Linked DNA regions of Homo sapiens: all the other regions are linked to region 3. The links are contacts of gene promoters, found by promoter capture Hi-C in human tissues and cell types (Jung and others, 2019). All regions are on one chromosome and are shown on one strand. The core of a region is centred on a gene start or on the middle of the fragment in contact, and the rest is flanking DNA. Distances in the headings are between cores, read along the strand shown. Region 1 overlaps HIRA (histone cell cycle regulator). Region 2 overlaps UFD1 (ubiquitin recognition factor in ER associated degradation 1). Region 3 holds the start of CLDN5 (claudin 5).

Region 1 (4,812 bases), core at 720-3,219, 110 kb after region 3:
AATTTGTCAACATTGGTTAAAACCAAGTTCTATTGGGCAGTGCAGGAAGTGTTCCCAGGAGCAACATTCACTGGGCAAAAGCCTCAACTTTCCCAAGCTTCATTCCAAAAGGACATATGCACATGTGTTCCAGTCAGCTCTACCCAATGAACTATCAGAACATAAAAGCCCAGAGACTTTTTGGAGCCAAACCAAAGGTCTGTGGGACTGCTGAGAGGGAAGGGCCAGCAGCTCTCCATTGTGCCCTCTCTGCTTTGCCTCTGGCCACCTCTCTGTGCTCAGAGTTTAAGTTCCCATGTTTAGTCCTCTTCTAGGAATCTTTCCCCTAGTGTGAAGGAGGGTACGATTCTACCTGAGCATGCCCTGTCATAATCCCAGCTTCCTTAATGTATTCTTTATTCCCTGCCAGGTGGAAAGCATTTGTGCTGCTCTTGTCAAATCAGCAAATCCCCAGACAGTAGACAGTGGCTGACTATATTGGCTGTGTATTGGGTGTGCAGGGACAACATTCTGATCTGGGGTTGATCTAAGGATAGGTGATTGCTTGGTGTCTCTAGAGTCTAGGGTGTGTTAATTTGTCTTTTCTTTCTGTCTCTATTACAAAGAAAGGCCAGACACTGGAGGTAGTTGGGAACTCATCTTTGTCATCATCATGCTGTGCCACAGGAAGAGTTGTCTAACTAGCTCAGCCAGAAGGTCCCTTTCCTTAGCTCCACCTCAGAGAGCCCTTTAGAAGAGGTTCATTCCTGGCCGGGCACGGTGGCCGGGATTACCCCTGTAATCCCAGCACTTTGGGAGGCTGAGGTGGTCGGATCATGAGGTCAGGAGATCGAGACCATCCTGGCTAACATGGTGAAACCCTGTTTCTACTAAAAATACCAAAATTAGCTGGGCGTGGTAGCAGGCACCTGTAGTCCCAGCTATTCAGGAGGCTGAGGCAGGAGAATGGCGTGAACCTGGGAGACGGAGCTTGCAGTGAGTGGAGATCACGCCACTGCACTCTAGCCTGGGCGACAGAGCGAAACTCTGTCTATAAATAAATAAATAAATAAATAAATAAATAAATAGTTTCATTCCCACTAATGGAATGTGAGTGACTGCTTTCCTTGGGATGGAAAGGCCTAGTGCTGTAAGGAGGCGGGGAGCCAGCACTGCGCTGGTATCTGTGTAGGTCCCCTACCATATTTCATCTAATCTGCATAGCACTAGGAAAGGAAACCTGGTGCCAATGAACCAGGCACGCCTTCTCAAAATAATAAAAATAAAATAAAATAAAATCTCAAGGCTTTGTAGCTGGGTAAGTGGCAGGGCTAAAGATTCAGCCCATGATGTTTAATGCCAAAACCCAAACTTGTTGCCAGCCTCCATCCCTGCCTTCCCCTGGAGCCTTGAGGCCCCCACCCCCATTTTCCACACTGCTATTGTGGAGCCAGAATGTGAATCTGACCTTGGCATTACCCTGCCTTGAAAGTACCTTTAGAGAAATGTCTCAGCTCCTTACTGATGCTTGCTGAGCCATCTCTGTCTCCTCTTCTTTCTCACACTCTCTACCTGCAGTCTGCTCTGCAACATTACATCAGCCTATTTCTTGATTCCATGCCGTGCGTCCCCTCAGCCTGAAAACCCTCTCCTTCACCCGATCTTCTGGCTAACTCTTACTCAACCCTTGGGACCCAATTCAGTTATTATTTCTGCAGGAAGCCCGAGGCTGAGTCAGGTGGCTTTCTGCTTGTGAAGTGTCCATCAGTGGACATCTTACTAGGGGAGTTTGTATGATTATGTATCTTTACTTTCTCATTGCTTAGCCTAATGCCTGGCACATAGTAGAAATCTGCAAACAGAGACTGAGTGAGAAAACATGCAGTTGATGCTGTGAGTGGGCATGATCTAAAGCGCATGGGCTGTAATTGGTTACTTGTGCAGCTGAGCCCTCAGCACAGCCTGGCTCAGCCTGTACGTGCTCTTGGGTAGTCAGGGGAACTGTGACTTGCAGGTAAGGGTTTCTGGTGTGCTTCTTGAGGGGACTGATGTAATACAATGTCTCACAGACTTATGGAACTGAAAAGCACTCCAAGGGGAGGGGAATGTTCCGCCCTGATTGCCCGTCAAGACCAAAGCTGTCAGCTAGAACATTTTTTGTTAAAATGACAAATGCCCAGCTCAAGCTGGCTTAAGCAGAAAAGCAAATGAATTGGCATTTTGGTTTATCTCTTATATGACAAACCCCTAAATTTGCTGGCTTAAACCAATAACAGTTTTATTATTTGCTCATAATTCTGCAGCTTGTCAGGACTTAGCAGGTTCAGCTCATCTTGGCTCTATGGAATCTGCTGGGATGGCTCGAATAGCTTGGGGATAGAACACCTCACCAGGCCTGTGTCTGTGACCTTGATTCTCACTTGTCCGGGCTCTTTGATGCTCTACATGTGGCCAGCTTGGGCCTCTTCAAAACATGGTGGTCTCAGGGTACTTGGACTTCTCACATGACAACTAGGTTTCTCCAGAGAGCCAAAGTTGAACTGCTAGACTCTTAAGGCCTACACCTGGAACTGGAGCAACATTACTTCTGTCATTTCCCTTTGGTTAAAACGGGTCCCAGGTGTTTCAGATAAGGGATACTCAACCTATACTACATAGTGACCAGTAAGAAGGAAAGTGTATTTTATCTCAAGTTCATGCTTGATTTGACTACATGGCTGCGGCTCTCCACAGCTGGGTGCTGCCTGGGTCCCATGCTGGGCAGTGCCTTTTGGGCACCAGCATTTAATTTTCACACTTGCATGGGAGCCCTGGCAGGACTTCACAGTTCTCAGACAGCCACTGCCTGCCCACACACTCCTGATCCCAGTACTTGCTGAGTGATTCTAGGGCTGGTGACTCTGGTACTGTGTCCACATTGCCTCCTCTTGGGTGACAGAGACAGAACATGTTCAATTAAGAGACTCTTGGCAACAGCCCATCTATATCAGCAATTGTTGATGCTCAGATCATTGTCATGTATCTCCTTTGTCAATGAACAAATATTACTGCGCTACTGTACACTGGGTACTGTGCTAGAGGCTGAAGATGTGATGAACTCAACAGCAACTGACATGCCACTTGTAGCTCTTAAACCTTTGTCCTAGAAGCAGGGAGCTGGACAAATGCCCACCAGGCGTGAGTGCCTTCTATGGTCTGCTGGGTTTCAAGCTCCTACAGTGCTTTTGCCGGTCTGATCCACCCACCCAGCCAGCCAGCTAGCTTCATGGGATCCTAGTGCAAGCCTAGGCCCATACTGGGCTCTTTGGGGCTTCTAAGAACTAATAGCCACAGTCCTTTCTCCTGGAGGAATTGAACAGCTAATTTAACATAGAGTACAAACTGTGAAGGAGGTTCAGCCAGAGGAGATGCTGAGATGGCAGACGGTATGGGAACTTCACAGCACAAACAAAAGAGGGCTGTTTGGAAGCAGAAGTATGACAAGCGAAGCAATGCTCCTTGGTTGCAGCCAGCGCTGGTCCTGCTCAGCTGTCAGCCAGAAAAGACAAATAGCAGTCCTTCTGTCTAGGCTGCCAGTCAAGTGCAGATCCATGCAATAGGGAGATGTCTGGAGTTACAGCTGTGTGCCCTTTTCACTAAGTACCTGAGACTCAGAACTTCAATCATGAACAGCTCATAGCCATTACAAACACACATCCCTACAAGATGGCAGACAAATGCCCAGGCATCCTATGGGCTCAGCCATTCTCAGTGATGGAATGCTTTCTCCCACTGTTGGACTTTCAGTTGTCTGATGTTTGGAGAATCTTCTAGCAGTTTAGACTTTAACTGAATCTGTTGAGTTTGATACACTTCAATGAATAAAAGCCAATTTAGATACTGTATTTTTTTTTCTTTGTTTCCAGGCAAGCCGATTTTTTCAGTTGATATTCACCCTGACGGGACCAAGTTCGCAACTGGAGGACAAGGTATGTTTATGGAATAAAGAAAGGGAAAGCTTAACAGCCCTGCCACCTTGCTCTTCTCCTGCTGTCCATTTAGCTGTAGAGGGAATACTTGCTATTTTTCAGGATGGATGCAACGCTGTTTAAAATGTACAGTTATAATGTGTTATCTGAATGAATAAAATCAAAATCCTTTTATGGCTTTAGTGTGCTCTCTGTAAGTATTTTGGCAGCGGATGTATCATTCTAATTTCTGTTTATTGAGTTAATATTAAAATCAGTTTGTATCCCCAAACTTGTAGAGCATCGAGAGCGGTAGGTGGTCCAGTGGGCAAAGCCCAGCCCCAGAGACAAGGGCTCTGTCAGCATTTTTCTCATCTGAAAAAAGGGAATGAGGGTAATTTAAGCTTCTAAAGCAATCGTGTAGTTATTAGGCCCATTTTCTCGTCAAAGGAATTCAGTTAGGTTAAAGAGAAAGCACACTGTGGGCAAGTAAGAAAGCCCACACCATTTGAAACTGTTATTGGTAGTATTGCCCTTATGCTTCAGCCAGCATCTTTTGCAATGTTGCATGGTTCTATTTGGAAAGACAGAGCTGTTCTTCATGCCACAATACCAAGATGTATATATAGTGACACAATGTAGCATTCCACAGAGCCCAGCCCTCTGTCATCTTTACCCCAGAGCGGGGCCTCCCTCCAACCAGGCCTCCCCAGGCAGCACTTAGAGAGTGCCTTTGTGAGCTCTAGGTCCTCAGGCCAGGTGCTGCAGGGTGGGTTTCCAGCAGATGCTTCCACCCAGAATCAAGGAGCTGGAAGGGAGTGTAGGGAAGCTGTGGGCAGGGAAGCCTTTCTCTCCTTCCATGCTGTGGACTGCACCCGAGAGGAGG
Region 2 (4,668 bases), core at 2,156-4,655, 71 kb after region 3:
GATATCCTGGCAGCAATACTTTACTGTAATTTTGTAAGATGCTACCGTTGGGAAAACTGGGCAAGTGTACAAGGCATCTTTTGTATTATTTCTTAAAACTGCATGTGAATCTACAGTTGTCTCAATTAAAAACAAAAAAGGAAGCCAAGGGTGGTCATGTCTCAATATTTTACTTTTAAAATCCTGGAAACACAGGTGGACTTTGATGCTCCCCTGGGCTACAAAGAACCCGAAAGACAAGTCCAGCATGAGGAGTCGACAGTAAGTGTTATCCTCAGTGTCCTTTGCTGTCCTGCTGCATGCTGCTTTTGAGTTCCTGGCAGTGGCTCGTGGGTGGCCTCTGCTAGTGTTGGTGTAGTCATATCCTCTGCGTCCCTTCCAGCCATGCTTCCGGGGGACATCCTAGCCGGGGGTGGGGGTGAGAGGGAAGCTGGGTGTCCCCGCTGAGGAGCTCACCTGTTTTTCTTTTTCCCTGTCAGGAAGGTGAAGCCGACCACAGTGGCTATGCTGGAGAGCTGGGCTTCCGCGTGAGTACCAGACCACTTGACTTATATTGCTGTGCCCTCTGCTCCTTGAAATTAGAGCACTCACTCAAGGTGTTCTCCATGATGCTCGATGGACATCAGCAGGGGTTAGGCCTCTGGGTACCTGTGCATATGCAAATCTGCCACTCGCTCAGTTACCAAACCCTTTTGTATCCACTCTCTCCTGGAATCTTCCCAACAGCCCCATAAGGCAGCCCAGATTTTTAAGAATTTCTAACCTACCGAAGAGTTTAAATAGTACAGTAGACATATACTGTTCCCTTAGGTTCACCAAAAGTTACCACATTTGCTTTCTCTCTCTTGTAAATCATGTTTCCTTTTTTCTTTGCCTGTACCATGTAGGTTGCAAACATGACCCTTAGCATAACTACTGGCAAGGCTCCATGGGAAACAGGTGGAGGTGGTTCATGTGTGGGCACTGAGGTGGCAGGAGGTGCCAGGAAGCAGCAGAGAGGGCAGAATGATGGGAAGCTGAGCTATGGGGCAGTCACAACAGTAGCCTTAGCCCACCCATAGAGCTTGAACTGGGTGGCCCTGCAGAGGCAGGGATCAGGTCTTTTAACCCAACACTGACTGCTGGCTGCCCTTGGCCAAGTGGCTGTCTTCAGCTCATGGCCACCCCCTGAGGAACTGGGCAGAGTTCTTAGCTGCCAGCACCCCAGCAGTTGAGGAGTCAGGGCTTCAGTCCTGAAGGGGTCTGCACAGCACCCCCAGCTCACATCCCTGCAGTGATCTCCAAGCAAAGGACATATCGTCCTCACACTTGGGCTTATTATATGACTCACCTACTTCCTGTCTAGGCTTTCTCTGGATCTGGCAATAGACTGGATGGAAAGAAGAAAGGGGTAGAGCCCAGCCCCTCCCCAATCAAGCCTGGAGATATTAAAAGGTAGGTCTGTCCTGGCTCTCCTCCAGGACAGGAGGAGGATCTGTGCCAGCCCGCTGGGGTCGGGCAGCCTCACCCCAGTTCTGGAGACAAAGCCTGGGTCAGTAGTCTCCCAAGGGACTAAAACCCTTAGCTGCTCTCCTTGGTGGGGTGGAGCACAACATGCCCCTCCTTCCACAGTGCCACCCCCAGTACCACTGTGGTCCAGCCTCTCTCCATACCTCTCCATACCCCCAATTCAGCCTCTTCTTGCCCCCACTGGCTTTCCTAAGATGCGAGTCTGATTAGATCTGTCTCTTACTCAAAACCTTTCTGGTCCCTATTTGGTGATCTGCCTATTTTCCTGTTTTGTGACTTGGAATTATTAATCAGGTCACATTATCTCAGTTCCCCTGAAAGTTCCCTGAGGAGCTACCTCAGATGTGCTTCTGTTGCTGGGTCCGGGGACCCACAGCAGACCCTTCCTCTGGTGGCCATGATGGCAGGGGCAGGGCTGAGGTGTGTCAGTTGTCTGTTGTGTGTGTGAAATCAGAATACTGGAGTGAGAGTCTAGCCACCTCAGGGGGTTCTGTGAAGCTCAGGACAGTGACAGTGAGGGCTTCCCAATCCTTCAGATGACCCCTCTCCATAGACAGGTACAGAGCCTAAAGCCCCTGGCCCTATACCCAATATTGATACCAAACCAAGAAGTCAGTTACTTTCTGCTTCCCTCCTGGGAGGATGCCAGGAAGCACCAAAGGGCCCAGGTGGGGTGCAGCAGCATCTTTTCTGCGTTCCTCTTGACTGTCAAAAATGAATTTTAGTCCTTTTTTCCTGGAAATAACATTTCTCTGTCTCTGTCTCTTCTTACAGAGGAATTCCCAATTATGAATTTAAACTTGGTAAGATAACTTTCATCAGAAATTCACGTCCCCTTGTCAAAAAGGTTGAAGAGGTGAGTGTATTTCCTTGTATTTCCTTGGTTGGTAATGAGGAGATTTATTTGCTAGTGATGACTGAAGTTCTTGGCATTCTGAGTAGGGGTGTGCATTAGTCTGTTTCCAAGCTGCTGGTAAAGATGTACCCGAGACTGGGCAATTTACAAAAGAAAGAGGTTTAATGGACTTACAGTTCACATGGCTGGGGAGGCCTCACAATCATGGCAGGGGGCAAGTCACATCTTACATGGATGGTAGCAGGCAGAGAAAAAGCTGGTGCAGGGAAACACCTACTTATAAAACCATCAGATCTCATGAGACTTATTCACTATCATGATAACAGCACGGAAAAGACCCGCCCTCATGACTCAGTTACCTCCCACCGACTCAGTTACCTCCCACCTGGTCCCTCCCACAACACGTGGTAATTCAAGATGAGATTTGGGTGGGGACGCAGCCAAACCACATGAGGGTGTCTGTCATGTTTTCCCTTTCCTAGGGTCCCTCTGCTCCCTGGTGTCCTGTTTTTTTCTGTAGAGCTGGTGTAGGGTGTATGAAACAGAAGACTTGCAGCATGGGGGTCAGGAGCTCTGTCTTGCTCTAGAGCCGACTCCAGGCTCTGTTATCACAGAACTGTGTGCCCTGGGTGGGCTTCGTCTTCCAACAGAGACCTTGAACTTCAAATATAGGCAGCACCTTCTAGCTGAGCAGGGTGGTGGCGGGACAGAGGAAGGCAAGGGCTGAGCATCCTGTAGACATGGGCACTTTGTGGGAATATGGCCAGGCCTGGCAGCAACTGGAACGCAGTCACCTCTTTGTGATGAGGATTTCTACAACACCAGCGCTTCAGACCCATCGCTCTCCTGGTTCCTTTTCTCAAAGGATTGGACCCTTGAGGATCCAGGATCAGGGCAGAGGGCAGATGTACTGAGCCACCCATTCAGGACCAGCTGCTACATGGGAGCCATCCCAATTACTGAACTCTTTTCTCTAGCACTTGGGGTGGTTGGGGACAGAGACCACTGTGAAGTTTGCACACCTGGTCCTACTCACAACCACTTCTGGGCTCAATGTTCAAGTTGAAACAGCATTGGGCATTGGGACCTTTCAGGCTCAGAGGAGCAAACATAGTGGCCAGTCAGACCTCACCCTCCAGCTCCTCCTTCAGGCACCATCCAGGCTTCACCAGCTACAGGCTGCCTTTCTCACTAAAAGCCAGTGCCTGACTCCGACCTAAGACCTTAGCATGGGACGTCCCCCAGGCTGACTGTGACCTGACTGTTGCAAATTTACAGAAGGCAGGGGAGGCCAGTGGGCACAGCAGGCCTGTTTGACCATAAATATGTATTTAAGAAGTATATGTTTAAAGATGGGATTGAAGACATATTTAGCTCTATTCCATCCTGCAGCCCCACTAAGGCTGTGGCTAAAGGTCATGAGGTAAGAAAGACAGTGGAAGAGGAGGCAACTACAAGGCTTTGGAAGCCCCAGGTACCTTAGTAGACCATAGAAAGCCTAGAAGCAGTTCTGTGTAGATTGTGGAATTCTCAAAAGGCACCTCTAGAAATGAGGGACTAAAGACAGAATTCTGTTACTAAGCAGTTAGAGCTGCATTACCCTCCCTCCCCCATCCCAGAAGGCTGGAGGCTCGACTCCAGTAGGTCTCTAGACTACTATCTCTGAAGTGAAGGCCACAGTCAGAAAGCTTTCCATTCCAGCATCTAAATAATAGAGGATTTGTGGGAAGAACAGCCACAGAAACCAAAGGAGCAGAAATCATCAGGGAAATAGTTTCCCCAAAGATGGGCACAATTTTGCAGATTTGAAGGGCTCACTGAGTTCCAGCAAAATGAATGAAAATAGCCCCACTTTGAGGCAAAGAAAGATCCTAAAGCTTCTAGAGAGAGAACAGAGGTATCACCATGCATTAAGGACATCATCAGCCAAGCGCCATGGCTCACACCTGTAATCCCAACACTTTGGGAGGCTGATGCGGGAAGATCATCTGAGCCCAGGAGTTTGAGACCAGCCTGGGCAATATAGGGAGACCCTGTCTCTACAGAAAATTTTAAAAATTAGCCAAGCATGGTGGCACGCACCTATAGTCCCAGCTACTTTAATGCTGAGTTGGGAGCATCACTTGAGCCTGGGAGGTGGAGGCTGCTGTGAGCTGAGATCACACCACTGCACTCCAGCCTGGGTAACAGTAAGTCCCTGTCTCCCAAAAAAAGGGACATCATCTTAGCAGGACACAGAGGAAACTAGAAGATAGTGGAGCAATATACTCAAAATTCTGAGGGGAAATTTTTTCCAACCTAAA
Region 3 (4,481 bases), core at 1,461-3,960:
AGGTGGGTGCACCCTCATGCCCCTCCGGAGTCTGGCCTGGGCTACTCAGAGGCCAGCCTCCATCTGAGGTGGGTTTGTCTGGGGTGGCGTCAGCCCCTGCGGCCCTCTCTGGGCCTCTCTGCATTGGCATTGTTCCACTGCAGCCTGGGGCCTCGACCAACATAGTGGGGTCAGGGTAGAAACCAGATTGTGAAAGGTGAAGCCTGAGACTCCTCTGCCACGTCCCTGAGATGCTGTGAGGCTGCCGCCAAAGAAACATGAGCTTGCTGGGGCCACCCTAGGGTGACAGCTAGGAGAGAAGAAAAACAGGCAGCCAGGTGAGAAGGGAGAGCCTTGGGCTGGCTGCAGCTCCAAGCTGGCTAGAGGGCAACAGGCAGCCTCCTGTGCAGGACAGACGCATGAAGACAGCCACCCTGTGGAGGTTATTCCTGGATACTAGGTGGGAAAGTCGGCAAGCAAAAGGACAGGTCCAGCTCAAGCTTCTAAAAGCAATGCTGGGGGACGGTGCAGCAAGGTGTTCCTGGAAATGACCTCGGCAACACATCTTAGAAGATGAGCAGGACCCAACCTGACAGATACACGCTGCGGGCAGAAGAGGCCAAGGTAAGAGACGGCCCATGTGAGGCCCATAGGCAGGTAAGTCTCCTGGGGCAGAGTGTGTGCTCAGGGCCGCACCAAGACTGGTGGCTGGACTGGCCAGTCCTAGCGCATGCAGGTACACATCAATCCAGCTGCTCTGGGAGTCGGCTCTTCGTCCATGGGCAATGTGAGCCATGGAGGGTCTTAGGTAGGGTGAGGCCCAGGAGAGGGGCCTGGTGGGGTGGGTGGCCTAGCTGGGCAAGGGCAGGTCCCTGATGACCTGAGGAGGCCGCAGCAGTCATCCCAGGAAGATGGTGGCATGGAAGGGCTGGGAGTAGGGGGATCTGGGGAAGTTCCCTGGGCTTGGGTTAGGGGGTAGTAAGAGTGAGAGGGTGGGTGGGTCAGCTGTACCCCTGGAGTACACAGAGGAGGAGATGTCCAGGAGGGTCTGTAGAGGAAGGGGCATGGCCCATGGGTCTGCAGCAGGAGGAAGGCAGTGACTAAAGTGATAGCTGGGAGAAGGCAGTGGTCCTCAGAGCCATACCTGGTGGGGAGAGGCCACGTGGGGCTGAGCAAAGAGGGTATGATTTCCTTCCAGCCTCAGGGCTGGGCACACTTGCCTTCAGAACCTCCCCACACTAGGTGAGCCAGACGCTGGCCTTATCTCATTTACCATCTCAGAGCCATCTGAAGGGGGAGAAGGGAACCGGGCCCCAGGAGGGAGAAAGTCATCAAACCTCCCACATCTGTGACCAGCCTCAGTGCCATACTTTTTCTATGGAGGGCCCTGTCCAATGGAACTGAGCACAGACCAGATAAAAGAACTGGGCACCCAGTGGCCTCAGTCCAGGGCCTGGAGTTCAAACTTTACTGGAAACAAAGGGGCCGAGAGAGACTGGGGAAAGAACTACTAGAAAGGGGCTGGTGCCCCCATGGGGCTGTGGGTTTTGGAGCCGCGTGCCCCCACCTGAGCCTCAGGGGGCCCGGAGTGTCCACACCAGTGGACCTTTCGAGAAATGGCTGGGCCATTGTGCAGAAGAATGCCCGGAAATCCCGCGCCTCCCTCCTCCAGCAAGGATGGGGGCTCTTCCTCCTGGCCAGGAAACTCCAAGTTGGCTTCCGGAGGGTGGCCTGGGGGCTGGGGTGCCAGGGACACCATCGCCACTGGTGGGAGGGCAGGGCACAGCCCCTCCGTGTCCCTTTGTCTCTCCTGTCTGAAGGCCAGAGCAGGCTGCTAGGCCTGGGGCCACCACTGCCCCTGGGTGCTACACCCAGTGTGCTGGGTCACTGGGAACTTCCTGAAGTGGTGTCACCTGAACTGGGCCCCCAAGGATGGGGTGCGGGCAGTACCGCAGGAAGAGGAGCAGCCCCTGTGAAGATTGAGAGGTCTGGGAAGCCCCTGCGGCTTGGGAGAGTGGGGGTCGCCAGGCAGGGGGAAAGCCCCTGTGCCACCGCTTTTTGCCAGAGACTCAGGCTCCAGAGAGGCAGTGAGTGGCATGGGGGGTGAGGCTGGGGCCCTGGGCCTGACCTCCACACGCCTGCCTGGCCTCTCTGTTTGCCATGGGATGAGAGAGACAGTGCTGGGACTCAGAGCGGGGCTGGAGAGTGAGAGTGCGAGAAAGGGCCTGGGTGGGGCTTGGACCCCGGGGCGGGCTTTCTGGAGAGCCCCCCTACGAGGGCCTCTACGGCGGTGACGGGGTGGGGGGCTTCTGCAAACCTTGGTCAGGGAAGTGGAGCTGGCTCGAGTGGAAGAGACCACCCGGCTCAGTCGGGGATGTGGGAGTGGACTGGGTGGTGCAGACTGGGGGTCGAGCGCCTTCTGAAGTGACGGGGCCGGGACGCGCAGGGAGGCGGCCCAAGAAGCGCGCCCTAGGCCAGCCCAGAATGCGCTCGGCCGCGACTAGGACAACGGCGGGTGGGGCTGGGGGCGGCTGCCGGGCGGGGAGCGGTCCCGCGCCCTCAGCTACCCCTCAAGAGCCGTTGTTTCCCTAACTTCAGCTGCCAGAGGCTCTGTGATTGGCTGCGGCACGATGACCCGCGCACGGATTGGCTGCTTCGGGCCGGGGGGCCGGGCCCGGGGGACAGAATCCGCCCCCGAACCTTCAAAGAGGGTACCCCCCGGCAGGAGCTGGCAGACCCAGGAGGTGCGACAGACCCGCGGGGCAAACGGACTGGGGCCAAGAGCCGGGAGCGCGGGCGCAAAGGCACCAGGGCCCGCCCAGGGCGCCGCGCAGCACGGCCTTGGGGGTTCTGCGGGCCTTCGGGTGCGCGTCTCGCCTCTAGCCATGGGGTCCGCAGCGTTGGAGATCCTGGGCCTGGTGCTGTGCCTGGTGGGCTGGGGGGGTCTGATCCTGGCGTGCGGGCTGCCCATGTGGCAGGTGACCGCCTTCCTGGACCACAACATCGTGACGGCGCAGACCACCTGGAAGGGGCTGTGGATGTCGTGCGTGGTGCAGAGCACCGGGCACATGCAGTGCAAAGTGTACGACTCGGTGCTGGCTCTGAGCACCGAGGTGCAGGCGGCGCGGGCGCTCACCGTGAGCGCCGTGCTGCTGGCGTTCGTTGCGCTCTTCGTGACCCTGGCGGGCGCGCAGTGCACCACCTGCGTGGCCCCGGGCCCGGCCAAGGCGCGTGTGGCCCTCACGGGAGGCGTGCTCTACCTGTTTTGCGGGCTGCTGGCGCTCGTGCCACTCTGCTGGTTCGCCAACATTGTCGTCCGCGAGTTTTACGACCCGTCTGTGCCCGTGTCGCAGAAGTACGAGCTGGGCGCAGCGCTGTACATCGGCTGGGCGGCCACCGCGCTGCTCATGGTAGGCGGCTGCCTCTTGTGCTGCGGCGCCTGGGTCTGCACCGGCCGTCCCGACCTCAGCTTCCCCGTGAAGTACTCAGCGCCGCGGCGGCCCACGGCCACCGGCGACTACGACAAGAAGAACTACGTCTGAGGGCGCTGGGCACGGCCGGGCCCCTCCTGCCAGCCACGCCTGCGAGGCGTTGGATAAGCCTGGGGAGCCCCGCATGGACCGCGGCTTCCGCCGGGTAGCGCGGCGCGCAGGCTCCTCGGAACGTCCGGCTCTGCGCCCCGACGCGGCTCCTGGATCCGCTCCTGCCTGCGCCCGCAGCTGACCTTCTCCTGCCACTAGCCCGGCCCTGCCCTTAACAGACGGAATGAAGTTTCCTTTTCTGTGCGCGGCGCTGTTTCCATAGGCAGAGCGGGTGTCAGACTGAGGATTTCGCTTCCCCTCCAAGACGCTGGGGGTCTTGGCTGCTGCCTTACTTCCCAGAGGCTCCTGCTGACTTCGGAGGGGCGGATGCAGAGCCCAGGGCCCCCACCGGAAGATGTGTACAGCTGGTCTTTACTCCATCGGCAGGGCCCGAGCCCAGGGACCAGTGACTTGGCCTGGACCTCCCGGTCTCACTCCAGCATCTCCCCAGGCAAGGCTTGTGGGCACCGGAGCTTGAGAGAGGGCGGGAGTGGGAAGGCTAAGAATCTGCTTAGTAAATGGTTTGAACTCTCTCCCACCTGTGTCCTGTTCTCTGTCCAGCCATCTTCCGTGTCCAGCAGCCCCATTCATCACCCACCAGCCCCGCCCTCCCAAGGACTCCTGTGGAGACCTCCTCCCAGGGCTGGAGGCTGGGGCTCTTTTCCCCATCCTCCCTGCCACCTTCCCACCAGGTGGGAGACACAGCCACCACTTACTACAGCCCAGAAAGGCGGGATCTGCGGTCAGAAGAGCTGCTGCGTCATGGGGCCCTGGGGCCCGGGATGGGACAGGGGCGGGGGCAGCGGCAGACCCCAGCAGAAGATGCGGGGTGAAGCGCCCTCAACACAGGCTGGTGAGTGGGGGTCCTGCGGTGTGGGAAGTGCTGGGGGTGAGCAGCCAGGCCGCTGGCTTCTCCCAGAA

What was found. Contacts are between HindIII fragments. The study calls those that stand out against the background at their distance.
Region 1: a fragment that was not itself captured here is called in contact with the fragment with the promoter of CLDN5 in region 3 in 6 of the 25 tissues and cell types used here (dorsolateral prefrontal cortex, heart left ventricle, mesenchymal stem cells and 3 more).
Region 2: a contact is called between a fragment that was not itself captured here and the fragment with the promoter of CLDN5 in region 3, in 2 of the 25 tissues and cell types used here (dorsolateral prefrontal cortex and thymus).

Annotation. Positions count from the first base shown.
Region 1 is chr22:19,409,851-19,414,662 of GRCh38, reverse strand. HIRA (histone cell cycle regulator) reads left to right here. Exons shown (of 25, transcript NM_003325.4): 2 at 3,885-3,947. Among named protein-coding and RNA genes, the nearest start is that of HIRA, 19 kb to the left of the region's middle. The HindIII fragment of the contact is 5,454 bases long and covers 1-4,696 here.
Region 2 is chr22:19,452,446-19,457,113 of GRCh38, reverse strand. UFD1 (ubiquitin recognition factor in ER associated degradation 1) reads left to right here. Exons shown (of 12, transcript NM_005659.7): 8 at 196-261; 9 at 480-527; 10 at 1,346-1,434; 11 at 2,284-2,365. Among named protein-coding and RNA genes, the nearest start is that of C22orf39, 7.1 kb to the right of the region's middle. The HindIII fragment of the contact is 4,632 bases long and covers 1,090-4,668 here.
Region 3 is chr22:19,522,639-19,527,119 of GRCh38, reverse strand. CLDN5 (claudin 5) reads left to right here and starts at 2,710. Exons shown (of 1, transcript NM_001363066.2): 1 at 2,710-4,093. The coding sequence starts at 2,865. The coding sequence ends at 3,521. RefSeq lists an enhancer at 4,095-4,481. The HindIII fragment of the contact is 10,668 bases long and covers 1-2,940 here.